2 separate regions of the Homo sapiens genome follow, and region 1 is linked to region 2. Evidence: promoter capture Hi-C in 16 types of primary human blood cells and fetal thymus (Javierre and others, 2016). All regions are on one chromosome and are shown on one strand. The core of a region is centred on a gene start or on the middle of the fragment in contact, and the rest is flanking DNA. Distances in the headings are between cores, read along the strand shown.

Region 1 (6,484 bases), core at 3,038-5,537, 110 kb after region 2:
GGCTTTGATAAGCCGGTGGGCAGGGGCTCGCCTCGTGGGAAAGTGGCCGGCCCCCACACTGGGCTGACTCTCCTGCATTTGTGGGCCAGGGCAAGCTGACTCCAGAGAGCAGGAGAGGTGGTCCCAGGACTGGGCTGACGGGCTTCTGGGGGCCATCTGGCTGCCCTGGGCTTGCCCTGCTCTCAGGCAGATGGAGGCCCTCTGTCGCCTTCCCTGCATCCATCCCCAGACACTAAATGAGGAAGGCACTTGTGGTGGGGTCCGGGCCAAGGAAGAAGGGTAAATGGAGCAGCACCCCCAGCTCTCCCCCACTCCCCACCTTTCTGCCTCTTCCCTGTGCCCCTCCCCGACTCTGCGTGCCTCTCCCTCTCTGTGCCCCTCTCCCCCTCTCTTTGTCCCTTCCTGACCCCTTCAACAACCTGGAATCTTTGTAGCCTGAGGCAAGCCACCCCTTCCTTTTGGAGCATTTGGGAACCAGCACTGGAAAGTCCCCTATCCCCTCCTGGGGGCCTGGGCCACACAGGCCGAGCTGAGCCCCTTTCTTCCTGCCTCCGGGCCAGCATGGTTCTGGGTAAATCCCAAACCCTCTGGGACTCGGCCAATGGCCAGCCCCTCCATGCACTTCCTCCAAAACCTGGGGCATTCCTCTTTCTTCCATCCCTCTTTGAGGGGTCTTCTGGTTGGCCAGGCCAGCGAGTCAGCTGGAGGAACCTTTACCCTGGATGCTGGGCTGTCAGATGCTCTGCTCTGAGAGGCTCCCGCAACCCACCCTGGGTCCTTTCCTGACCCAGGATTCTGCTCTGCAGGCAGGGGCAGGTTAGACCCCTGCCTGAGCCCCATCCCCTAAAATCATAACCAGATGGGCTCTTGAGTGTTGCCTGCCCCAGCCCTCACCTGCTGAGGTGGGGAGGAACTGGCCAGGAGGGGACAGGGCTGTGTCGCCCCATGTGGGTGGGGCTGGGCTGTGCCCTTCCGTGGCCGTGGCCCTGGGACTGCATCTCTACTCCCATTAGTATGCACTCCCTCACTCTGGGCCACGTAATCTGTTTATGCACGTATGATATCAAAAACAGGAGGCAGGTGCTGCCGTCTTGCGTTCCTGGGAGTCAGAGGAGGGGACATTTTATGTCTACAGTGGCTTGGCAGCCCCTAATCGATGTCTGCTAGAAGGAACAGACAGATTCCAGATGGCGTGGCAGTGATAGAGGAGGTGTGTGTGTGCATGCGTGTGTGTGTGTGTGCGCGCGTGTGTGTGTGAGCATACATATGCTTGTGTGCACGCATGTGCGTGGGGACAGGGGCAGACCCTCCTCAGTCCCCAGCATGGCTGGGTCATGCTTGAACACGGTCGCGAAGGGACTAAATTACAGGATCCAGCAGGCCCCAGGGGATGAGGGAGCGGGAATTGCTCTGCTAAATGCTTTTGAGCTGTCAGGAAGGGCTGGGAGTGATGGGTGGGGGACATTGGGGAGGAGCTGGCAATGGGCGGGGGGGGGGCGGGTAGCTCCCCAGTGACCTGGCGCTGGGCAGCCGGTTTTGCCTCCCGCATCAGTGGCCGTCCTTGGCAAGACTCAGCTGCAGGCGATGTGGGAGCGGGAATTACAGAGCACACCTCCCTGACACAGAAGTTGTCAATATGCGCACAGCTGGTGGGGAGGCTCAGGCGAAGGGGGGACTATTAAGAGCTGCGCGGGGGAGCAGGCAGGGTGGGGAGGTGGGTGGGAGGGTGCTTTCTGAGGCAAAAGGAAGTGGCCCGTCTGAATCGCTCATCCTCTGCCCCCTCCCTGCCCATCCTCCCCTCCCTCCTTCCCTCCCTCCCTCCCTTCCTTTTTCTTTTCACAGATAACCAGCCCGAGTCATGCAGTCTTTTCGAGAAAGGTGTGGTTTCCATGGCAAACAACAGAACTACCAGCAGACCTCGCAGGAAACATCACGCCTAGAGAATTACAGGCAGCCGAGTCAGGCCGGGCTAAGCTGCGACCGGCAGCGGCTGCTCGCCAAGGACTATTATAACCCGCAGCCTTACCCGAGCTATGAGGGTGGCGCTGGCACGCCCTCTGGCACTGCAGCCGCGGTGGCCGCCGACAAGTACCACCGAGGCAGCAAGGCCCTGCCCACACAGCAAGGCCTGCAGGGGAGGCCGGCTTTCCCTGGCTACGGCGTCCAGGACAGCAGCCCCTACCCAGGCCGCTATGCTGGTGAGGAGAGCCTTCAGGCTTGGGGGGCCCCACAGCCACCACCCCCACAGCCGCAGCCACTACCTGCAGGGGTGGCCAAGTATGATGAGAACTTGATGAAAAAGACAGCAGTGCCCCCCAGCAGGCAGTATGCAGAGCAGGGCGCCCAGGTGCCCTTTCGGACTCACTCCCTGCACGTCCAGCAGCCACCGCCGCCCCAGCAGCCCCTGGCATACCCCAAGCTCCAAAGGCAGAAGCTGCAGAACGACATTGCCTCCCCTCTGCCCTTCCCCCAGGGTACCCACTTTCCTCAGCATTCCCAGTCCTTCCCCACCTCCTCCACCTACTCCTCCTCTGTCCAGGGTGGTGGGCAGGGGGCCCACTCCTATAAGAGTTGCACAGCACCGACTGCCCAGCCCCATGACAGGCCGCTGACTGCCAGCTCCAGCCTGGCCCCGGGGCAGCGGGTCCAGAATCTTCATGCCTACCAGTCGGGCCGCCTCAGCTATGACCAGCAGCAGCAGCAGCAGCAGCAGCAGCAGCAGCAGCAGCAAGCCCTTCAGAGCCGGCACCATGCCCAGGAAACCCTCCATTACCAAAACCTCGCCAAGTATCAGCACTACGGGCAGCAAGGCCAGGGCTACTGCCAGCCGGACGCAGCCGTCCGGACCCCAGAGCAGTACTACCAGACCTTCAGCCCCAGCTCCAGCCACTCACCCGCCCGCTCCGTGGGCCGCTCACCTTCCTACAGTTCCACACCGTCGCCGCTGATGCCAAACCTGGAGAACTTTCCCTACAGCCAGCAGCCGCTCAGCACCGGGGCCTTCCCCGCAGGGATCACTGACCACAGCCACTTCATGCCCCTGCTCAATCCCTCCCCAACGGATGCCACCAGCTCTGTGGACACCCAGGCTGGCAACTGCAAGCCCCTTCAGAAGGACAAGCTCCCTGAGAACCTGCTGTCGGATCTCAGCCTGCAGAGCCTCACGGCGCTGACCTCACAGGTGGAGAACATCTCCAACACCGTCCAGCAGCTGCTGCTCTCCAAGGCTGCTGTGCCGCAGAAGAAAGGTGTCAAGAACCTCGTGTCCAGGACCCCAGAGCAGCATAAAAGCCAGCACTGCAGCCCCGAAGGGAGCGGCTACTCAGCCGAGCCCGCAGGCACACCGCTGTCAGAGCCGCCGAGCAGCACGCCACAGTCCACGCATGCGGAGCCGCAGGAGGCCGACTACCTGAGCGGCTCCGAGGACCCACTGGAGCGCAGCTTCCTCTACTGCAACCAGGCCCGTGGCAGCCCTGCCAGGGTCAACAGCAACTCGAAGGCCAAGCCCGAGTCCGTGTCCACCTGTTCTGTGACCTCTCCTGACGACATGTCCACCAAATCTGACGACTCCTTCCAGAGCCTACACGGCAGTCTGCCGCTCGACAGCTTCTCCAAGTTCGTGGCGGGTGAGCGGGACTGTCCGCGGCTGCTGCTCAGCGCCCTGGCACAGGAGGACCTGGCCTCCGAGATCCTGGGGCTGCAGGAAGCCATCGGTGAGAAGGCCGACAAAGCTTGGGCTGAAGCACCCAGCCTGGTCAAGGACAGCAGCAAGCCACCCTTCTCGCTGGAGAACCACAGCGCCTGCCTGGACTCTGTGGCCAAGAGTGCGTGGCCCCGGCCTGGGGAGCCGGAGGCCCTGCCCGACTCCTTGCAGCTGGACAAGGGCGGCAATGCCAAGGACTTCAGCCCAGGGCTGTTTGAAGACCCTTCCGTGGCCTTCGCTACGCCTGACCCCAAAAAGACAACTGGTCCTCTCTCCTTTGGTACCAAGCCCACCCTTGGGGTTCCTGCTCCAGACCCCACTACAGCAGCTTTTGACTGTTTCCCGGACACAACCGCTGCCAGCTCAGCGGACAGCGCCAACCCCTTTGCCTGGCCAGAGGAAAACCTGGGGGATGCTTGTCCCAGGTGGGGATTGCACCCTGGCGAGCTTACCAAGGGCCTGGAGCAGGGTGGGAAGGCCTCAGATGGCATCAGCAAAGGGGACACCCATGAGGCTTCGGCCTGCCTGGGCTTCCAGGAGGAGGACCCCCCTGGGGAGAAGGTGGCCTCGTTGCCCGGGGACTTCAAGCAGGAGGAGGTGGGTGGGGTGAAGGAGGAGGCAGGTGGGCTGCTGCAGTGCCCCGAGGTGGCCAAGGCTGACCGGTGGCTGGAGGACAGCCGGCACTGCTGTTCCACCGCCGACTTCGGGGACCTCCCACTGCTGCCACCCACCAGCAGGAAGGAGGACCTGGAAGCTGAGGAGGAGTACTCCTCCCTATGTGAGCTCCTGGGCAGCCCCGAGCAGAGGCCTGGCATGCAGGACCCGCTGTCACCCAAGGCCCCACTCATCTGCACCAAGGAGGAGGTGGAGGAGGTGCTGGACTCCAAGGCCGGCTGGGGCTCTCCGTGCCACCTCTCAGGGGAGTCCGTCATCCTGCTGGGCCCTACAGTGGGCACCGAGTCAAAGGTCCAGAGCTGGTTTGAGTCCTCTCTGTCACACATGAAGCCAGGTGAAGAGGGGCCTGATGGGGAGCGAGCTCCAGGGGATTCCACCACCTCGGACGCCTCTCTGGCCCAGAAGCCCAACAAGCCTGCTGTGCCCGAGGCGCCCATCGCAAAGAAAGAGCCTGTGCCACGGGGCAAAAGCTTACGGAGCCGTCGGGTGCACCGGGGGCTGCCCGAGGCCGAGGACTCCCCATGCAGGGCACCAGTGCTGCCCAAAGACCTCTTGCTCCCTGAATCCTGCACAGGGCCCCCCCAGGGACAGATGGAAGGGGCTGGAGCCCCAGGCCGGGGGGCCTCGGAAGGGCTCCCCAGGATGTGTACTCGTTCTCTCACGGCCCTGAGTGAGCCCCGCACGCCCGGACCCCCAGGCCTGACCACCACCCCTGCACCCCCAGACAAACTGGGGGGCAAGCAGCGAGCCGCCTTCAAGTCGGGCAAGCGGGTGGGGAAGCCCTCACCCAAGGCTGCCTCCAGCCCCAGCAACCCGGCCGCCCTGCCTGTGGCCTCCGACAGCAGCCCGATGGGCTCCAAGACCAAGGAGACAGACTCACCCAGCACGCCTGGCAAGGACCAGCGCTCCATGATCCTTCGGTCACGCACCAAAACCCAGGAGATCTTCCACTCCAAGCGGCGGAGGCCCTCTGAGGGCCGGCTCCCCAACTGCCGTGCCACCAAGAAGCTCCTCGACAACAGCCACTTGCCCGCCACATTCAAGGTCTCCAGCAGCCCCCAGAAGGAGGGCAGGGTGAGCCAGCGGGCAAGGGTCCCCAAACCTGGTGCAGGCAGCAAGCTCTCTGACCGGCCCCTCCATGCGCTCAAAAGGAAGTCGGCCTTCATGGCGCCGGTCCCCACCAAGAAGCGGAACCTGGTCTTGCGGAGCCGCAGCAGCAGCAGCAGCAACGCCAGTGGCAATGGGGGAGATGGGAAGGAGGAGAGGCCTGAGGGTTCCCCCACCCTCTTCAAGAGGATGTCTTCTCCCAAGAAAGCCAAGCCCACCAAGGGCAATGGCGAGCCTGCCACAAAGCTCCCACCCCCGGAGACCCCCGATGCCTGCCTCAAGCTCGCCTCTCGGGCAGCCTTCCAGGGGGCCATGAAGACCAAGGTGCTGCCACCCCGGAAGGGCCGGGGCCTGAAGCTGGAAGCCATCGTGCAGAAGATCACCTCGCCCAGCCTCAAGAAGTTCGCATGTAAAGCGCCAGGGGCCTCTCCTGGTAATCCTCTGAGCCCATCCCTTTCCGACAAAGACCGTGGGCTCAAGGGTGCTGGGGGCAGCCCAGTGGGGGTGGAAGAAGGCCTGGTAAATGTGGGCACCGGGCAGAAGCTCCCAACTTCTGGGGCTGATCCGTTATGCAGAAATCCAACCAACAGATCCTTAAAAGGCAAACTCATGAACAGTAAGAAACTGTCTTCTACTGACTGTTTCAAAACCGAGGCCTTCACATCCCCGGAGGCCCTGCAGCCTGGGGGGACTGCCCTGGCGCCTAAGAAGAGGAGCCGGAAAGGCCGGGCAGGGGCCCATGGACTCTCCAAAGGCCCGCTGGAGAAGCGGCCCTATCTTGGCCCGGCTCTGCTCCTGACTCCCCGAGACAGGGCCAGTGGCACACAAGGGGCCAGTGAGGACAACTCTGGTGGAGGAGGCAAGAAGCCAAAGATGGAGGAGCTGGGCCTGGCCTCCCAGCCCCCGGAGGGCAGGCCCTGCCAGCCCCAGACAAGGGCACAGAAACAGCCAGGCCACACCAACTACAGCAGCTATTCCAAGCGGAAGCGCCTCACTCGG
Region 2 (6,749 bases), core at 1,096-3,595:
AGAAATCTCCCAGCAAGACCTCCTTGTCTTGCCTCCCACTGGGGTCCCTAGAACCAGCCTTCCCTTAGGCTCCACTCAGGAGCAGGTTAAGGTAAGGCAGGGAGGGCAGGAGACCAGCTCGGGGTGGAGATTGGGAGCCCTGGATGGATGATAGGGACTGTTCCCATTAATCTAGCATCTTAAAGCAGTAATAGCACTTACTGCATGCCAGGCTGTGAGCTAAATGCTTTCCACACGTACCTCATTCAATCCTCTCAACAGACCCATGAGGTAGGTACTATTATCCCCATTCTACAGATGAGGAAACGGAGGCTCAGCAAGTTAAGTAGTTTGCCCAAAGCCACCCAGCTGGGCATAGAGGAGCCACGTTTAGAAACCAGATTTGCCAGGCGCGGTAGCTCATGTCTGAAATCTCAGCACTTTGGGAGTCCGAGGCAGGTGGATCACCTGAGGTCAGGAGTTCAAGATCAGCTTGACCAACATGGAGAAACCCTGTCTCTACTAAAAATACAAAATTAGGTGGGTGTGGCGGTGCATGTCTGTAATCCCAGCTACTCGGGAGGCTGAGGCAGGAGAATTGCTTGAATCTGGGAGGCAGAGGTTGTGGTGAGCCAAGATCGCACCATTGCACTCCAGGCAGGGCAACAGGGGCAAAACTCCGTCTCAAAAAAAAAATACATAAATAAATAAATAAAAATAAACCAGATCTGTCATCCAGAAACCGCACTTAAAACAAGCTTAAAACAACACAGTTCGCACTGGGATCCAGCTCTGTCTTGCTCTTGACATTCACCCTGGGAGACGGGTAGCCAAGTCCAGTAGGAAGGACTGTGGGGACCTGTGTTGATTCTGTCCTGTAGCTTGAGAACCTGGACAGGGGACTTCACCACTCTGCGCCTGTTTCCTCATCCACAAAATGTGATGAGCCGACCTCACAGAGGGGGCACCAGGATCTAATGAGACCATGCACAGAAGGGGCACAGCAGGCCTGGGACAGAGTGAGGGCCCCCCATCTATCACAATACCTTATTTTGCAGATGCAGGATTCACTTGTCCCAGGTCACCCACAAGCTCTGATGCCTTGACCAGCTCCCCTCTGCCCTACCAAAGGACAAATGAGGGAGGCTTCGATGGGGCTGTTAATGGGGTCATATCCCACAGACCCTAGAGCCTGGGTGGGGCTGAGAGGCTTCCCAAGCAGGTGGCAGTGAGCTCCCACCTGAGCTATGGCAAGTAGAGACCTAGGCATGAAATTGCTCCGAGGTCTGTACCTTAAGTTTCATGCAAGGACTCTCTCATTCAACATGCCTCTGTTTAAAGTCTGCCAGTGGCTACCTTCCTTGCACTAGAATTGCAAACAAATTCCTCACTGAGCTCTCTGCAGCCCTGCAGGCTCTGGCCCTCCCGATATGGCTCTGACTTCAATGTGCCCATTACTTGTCCCCTTGCTGACGGCCTCCTCACAATTCCACTTACTCACCAAGTTCTCTCCTGCCTCAGGACCTTTGCACTTGATGTTCTTTCTGCCAATGATGCTCTTCCCAGGAGGGCAGGCCCCTGTAGTCCCAGCTACTCAGAAGGCTGAGGTGGGAGGACTGTTTGAGGCCAGGAATTCAAGTTCGGCCTGGGCAACACAGCAAGACCCTGCCTCTAAAAGAACAAAATGCTCTTCCCAGACTCTACCCATGGCGGTTCCTCTTGCTATTTAGATCTTTGCACAGACAGGCCTCCTTCTCTCTCCCCCAGCCAAGGAGCCCTAGCCGTCACTTCACCTGCTAATTTTCGTCCTAGCACTTACTGCTCTAAAATTATCTTCGTCATGTATCTAAGCATTTGTTTGCTGTCTGTCTCTTCCCACCAGGATGCCAGCTCCACGACAGCAGGGACCGCATTGTCTCTGCTGATTCCTCAAGACTCAGCAAGGTGCCAGGTGCCCAGTAAATGAAGTTTACATGAAGCCAATGGAGTTTTGAAATCGAAAATGTTTCTCAAACTGCAAAGAAGTGGGCACAGGTGAGGGCTAATGGTGGGGTGAGGGTGGGGGCCTGGCCTGACGCTGGAAGCTCCTGTACGCAGGGCGCTAGTGTCCTCCCAGGCCGCACCGGGATCCCACCGCAGAGGCCCCCTCCCGCAGGCCGGCCAGCGGGCGGGGGGCGCGCAGTGGGGCGCGCGGACCGCCAGGGGGTGCTGTCGGGGCGCGCACGGCCCACCTGGCGCCCGGGGCCGCGAGCGAGCGCAGCCAGGCCGCCCGGGAACTTTTTTCCTCGCGCTCTTGCTCTCCTTCTCCCCCCGCGCGTCGCCCGCCCGCCCGTCCGCTCGTCCGCTCTTCCTGTGCGGAGGGGATCGCATTCCTCGCGGCACCCGCGGACACCAGGCAGGCCCGGCCGGGTGCGCGGCCAAGGCCCGCTCCCCGCGTCCCCGGGCGCCGCCCCCGCCCGCGGCTGGGCTCCGAGAGACGAGTGGGAGAGCGAGTGCAGCGAGGGCGAGAGGCGAGCCGAGCAGGCCGCCCTGCCCGCGGCCCTAGCGCCGGCGCGAGGAGGGGGCGCCGCGGCCCACCCTCCTTCCTGCCTGGCCGCGGGCCGGCCGGGCCGCCGCGCCCCGACCCCCATGGCCACCCAGGCCTCCGGGCCGCGAAGTCGCAGCGCCAGACCCAAGGCCCCCGAGTGAGCGCGGGCGCCGAGGTGAGCAGCGAGCGCCGGGGCGCGGGGGGCGCAGTGTATCCTGCCCCGGGGCGGGGGCGGCGCGAGGCGTCGGGATCCTAGGCCGGGTGATGAGCCGAGGCGGGTTCGGACGCCGAGCGCGCGCGCTGGGTGGAGATGTGGGGTCCGCGGGGTCCTTGCTTTGTGTGGTGTGGGGGGTGCGCGAGGTCACCGGATGGACGTCTGGGGAGCTGCAGGGTGGGGGCGCCCTGCGCCGCGGCTGAGGGTCTTCTGGGGGATGTGCGGCCAGCTGAGGTCGGGTGGGGGCATGGGGGCGCGAGGGGCGAGTGTGGCAAGGGATCTGCTTGCGCCGAGGCGCGGAGTCTTTGCGGAGCGTGGGGTGGGGACGTGGGGTGCATTCGCGGGGCGCCGGGGGCGGAGGTGAGCTTTGTGAGTGCGTCCGAGGTGGGGGACGGGGAGCTGACTTCCCCATGCGTGACCCGGGCCCGGCGTGGCCATCGCTTGGGAGTCAGGGCCGGCGAAGGCCGTGCGTGGCGAGATGGGTGCTCGGGCTCTCTGCGGTGTCCCTACCCGGGCAGCGGCCCCGGGGCCTGTGCGCAGGCCCCGAGGCCGGGCAGGAAGCGGCCCCCGCGACCTGGGGAGCTCTGTAGCGGCCAGGCCCGGGAGGCACGGGCCCTTCGGGGATGACGTCACGGGCGGGGGCCCCGGACACGCGAGCCTTGCGCCCCACAGACGGCGGCGCAGCCCGCCGCCCTTTTCGAGGCCGGCCCCCCCTCTCACGCGCCTTGAAGGCAGGGAACCCGGGAGGAGGACATGGGGGCCGAGTGCGGCGGGGACAAGGGGTGGCAGGACGCGAGGGTGACATTTGGAGCCTGGTCGCGCCAGGGGCCTCCGTGGTGGGGCGGAGGGGAAGCGAAACACCAGCCAGGCCCTAGGCCGTCGCGGCCCCAGCTTCCTGGGGCGCCCGTTTTCCCGGCTAGCAGTTTTCTTTCTTGGGGCTCTTGGTCGTTATCCAGTCCACGCAGGGGCCGGAGTGCGGGCTGCCGCGGTGCTCTCCTGCGCGGAGCCCGGGCTGGCGGGGGCGCGGCGGGCCTCGGGCTCTGAATGGATGGGAGCGAGTGTAACAATGCGCCGGTGGGGGCTGGGGGAGGGGAGGCCGCGCGCCTGAATGGCGGAGCCGGCCGGGCGCTGCTCCGCGCGCCGCACACTCTCCCGCGCCGCCTTCCCCGCGGTTTCGGCGGGCCCGGATTCAGGGACCCACTCGGGATCTGCACGGTTCCTCCCACCAATACTGTCCCCCGCCCCCCTTTTATGTCTTTCCAATGCAGTAGTGTGTTGAGAATTCAAGGGCATTACATCTGGTTGCAATCCAGTTTCATGCCGCTGCCGGGCTGTTAAGACCTCGCGCTGACGTCAGAGCAGGGGAATTACTTCTTTTTATTTTATCTTTTTTTAGTTGTCTGCTGCCCTGGGAGGAGAGGCGGGGGTGGGTTAGGCTAGCTCTGATGTGGAGGCGCCAGCGTGATGGGAGCCCCGAGCTGGGGGCTCTGCTTCTCTTCCTGCCCCTGCCCCCCTCCATTCTCCATACAGTCCTCGCTCTGCTCAGGGTCAGGCCCACCCCAGGTGGGGGGCAGCCCTCGCTGCAGACTGAATGGTGGCCCCTCCCTGCTGACCACACAGCTGGGTTTTCAGAGGCTTTCCTGGGACGTGGCCCTCGGGATCTAGAAACTGGAAAGGAATCTTCTAGTTTCCCACCCCTCCCCCTCTTGACAGGCAAGCCGGTATATTCGGGGCCCAGGAGCAAGGAAAAGTGGCCTTTTGCGTGACACAGAAGTGGACACATCATTCTGATCTCAGGGCAGGCTCAGCCCCATAACTCTGGCAAAAGCTCTCACAAGCAAAAGCCTTGGAGAGGAGGAGAATGTATCAAGGTGAGATCCAGGCCCCAGAAGCCAACTGTGGAGTGGGCAAAATAGGACCTTTCCCACCAGCCTAGCATCCCTCTGGCTTCTGTGGAGATAAAGGGAACTCAGGGGTACTGGAGCTGCCTTTCTCTTCCACTAGACTGTGGGGCTCTCATAGGCAGGGACCCTGTCTTACTCCTCTTTGTTTTATTTTTGAGACAGGGTCTTGCTGTGTGGCCCAGGCTGGAGTGCCTTGGCACAAACACAGCTCACTTCAGCCTCAACCTCCAGGGCTCAAGCGATCCTCCAGCATCAGTCTCCTGAGTAGCTGGGATCACAGGCGCCCGACACCACACGTAGCTAATTTTAAATTTTTTTTTTTTTCTAGAGACAGGGGTCTTGCCATGGCTGGTCTTGAAGTCCTGGGCTCAAGCGATCCTCCCTCTTTGGCCTCCCAAAGTGCTGGGATTACAGGAGTGAGTCACTGCACCCAGCCTTACTCCTCTTTAGACTCCCAAGCCTAGACCAATTGCTTTCAAATTCTTGCCCGTGACCTATAGTAAGAAATACATCGTAGGTAACTACACAGGTCACACTGTATATAGCTGAAACAAAAGTTTACTGAAATAACTCCCTTACTGTGTCTGCTGGTCTGTAATCCTTTTTGTTCTTGTGTATTTGTTTTTTTTTTAATTACTGATTGCTACCCACGAAATTAATTTTGCAATCCACTGATGGGTCATACCCAGAATTTGAAAAAAACAAGCCTAGGAAATGAATTTGCCATCTATTCATGCAACAAATGTTAATTGCAACCCTAATAATTCCTCTCATGTTAAACTACTCAAGTAACACTTGGATACTTGGGTGAAAAATGCAAATAAGCCAGAAATATATGTAGTAAAAGTAAAAGTTCCCTTGGCACCCTCCCTGCAGGTAACCCCAGTTAATAGTTTGAACGTATCCTTCCAGACTTTTTGTTACTCACTTAATGCATATATATATATATATATATATATATATATATATATGTATGTATGTATGTATATTACATATACCAATCCATGCATAGTTTTCTTTTTCCCCAAGTGAGGACATACTGTGGGCTCTTCCTCGGCAGCTTCCTTTTTCCTCTCCGTTTGTCTTGGAGAGGTTGGTTGTGTGGCGAAGTCCTTCAGGGCAAGTTCTGGGTTGACTCCTGGCTCCACCACATACTGAACAGGCCATTTACCTCTCTGTGCCTCAGTGTCCCCATCTTTACAATCAGGAGAATAACAGTACAGACCTCACGGTACTGAAGTAAAGATGCAGTGAGTTAATCCATATGAAGTTTAGAGCAGTGCTTTTGCCAATAAATGCTGATTGCTGCCGTCATTGTTGTATTGTTATTGCTGTTCTATCTCCATGGCAGCCCATGTTTGAAATGCATTGCTTTCCACAGCTGCCTGTGGCCATGGCATGGGTGTCTTTTTCCTCCCCTATCCAACGTGTGGCTCCACAGGGAGGGAGGAGGTGCAACAGCAACGGTGTGCGCAGAGCAGCGTCTCTGCGGGAGAGGCACCTGGGCACTGGGCCCAAGGGAACAGGGATTTTCCAAGGACCCACTGTTTCCAAAGTTCTGTGCTTAATGTCGGGGTCCAAGCAGGAAGCATCCCTGCACTTGACCACAAGAAGGTCACAGCCCAGTGGGTGATTGGGACCCAGCTCATAGCCAAGGCCTCGACCAGAGCTGGAGGCTTCCTGGAGGAGGGGCCTTTGAGCAGGTGCTTCAGGCACGGCGAGGTAAGAGTGAGAGGAGCATTCCTGGCAGAGGGAACACAGTGAGCAGAGCGAGTCTTTGGAAGCTGGAAGGGATGTGGCCTGTGTGCTGTAGCCAAACAAGAGGGGAGGACTTGGCTCAGAAAGAATGGTGGCGGAAGAGGTTGGGCTGTTGCTGGGACCTCCTCACTGGCCTCCCTGCCTCCATCCTGTCCCCTCCCAGGTGCTGGCCAGCAGCACTGTCAGAGCGATCGTTCTAAACCCAGCAGATAACCTCCAGTGGCTCCTGCTGCCTTATGAATAAAGGTCCCATCTGTAGTTCTTCCCATGCTGTCCAGGGCCATTTCTGGTGTCCTCTGCCTGCCCTGTCCTCATTCAGTCCTGTCCCCTCCAGCCACAGCTGGCACCTCCTTGTTAAGGTGCAGCC

What was found. Contacts are between HindIII fragments. The CHiCAGO score rates a contact against its expected background, and 5 or more counts as called.
Region 1: a contact is called between a fragment that was not itself captured here and the fragment with the promoter of RAI1 in region 2, in 4 of 17 cell types (endothelial precursors, megakaryocytes, naive CD4 T cells and 1 more). The highest score is 8.3, in endothelial precursors.

Annotation. Positions count from the first base shown.
Region 1 is chr17:17,791,091-17,797,574 of GRCh38, forward strand. It overlaps RAI1 (retinoic acid induced 1), which reads left to right. Exons shown (of 6, transcript NM_030665.4): 3 at 1,843-6,484. The coding sequence starts at 1,859. Among named protein-coding and RNA genes, the nearest start is that of SMCR5, 15 kb to the left of the region's middle. RefSeq lists enhancers at 1,918-2,644, 2,645-3,369. The HindIII fragment of the contact is 1,117 bases long and covers 3,730-4,846 here.
Region 2 is chr17:17,679,113-17,685,861 of GRCh38, forward strand. RAI1 (retinoic acid induced 1) reads left to right here and starts at 2,346. Exons shown (of 6, transcript NM_030665.4): 1 at 2,346-2,681. RefSeq lists silencers at 2,067-2,576, 2,607-2,746, 2,807-2,886, 2,898-3,070, 3,057-4,006 and an enhancer at 2,387-2,988. The HindIII fragment of the contact is 10,976 bases long and covers 736-6,749 here.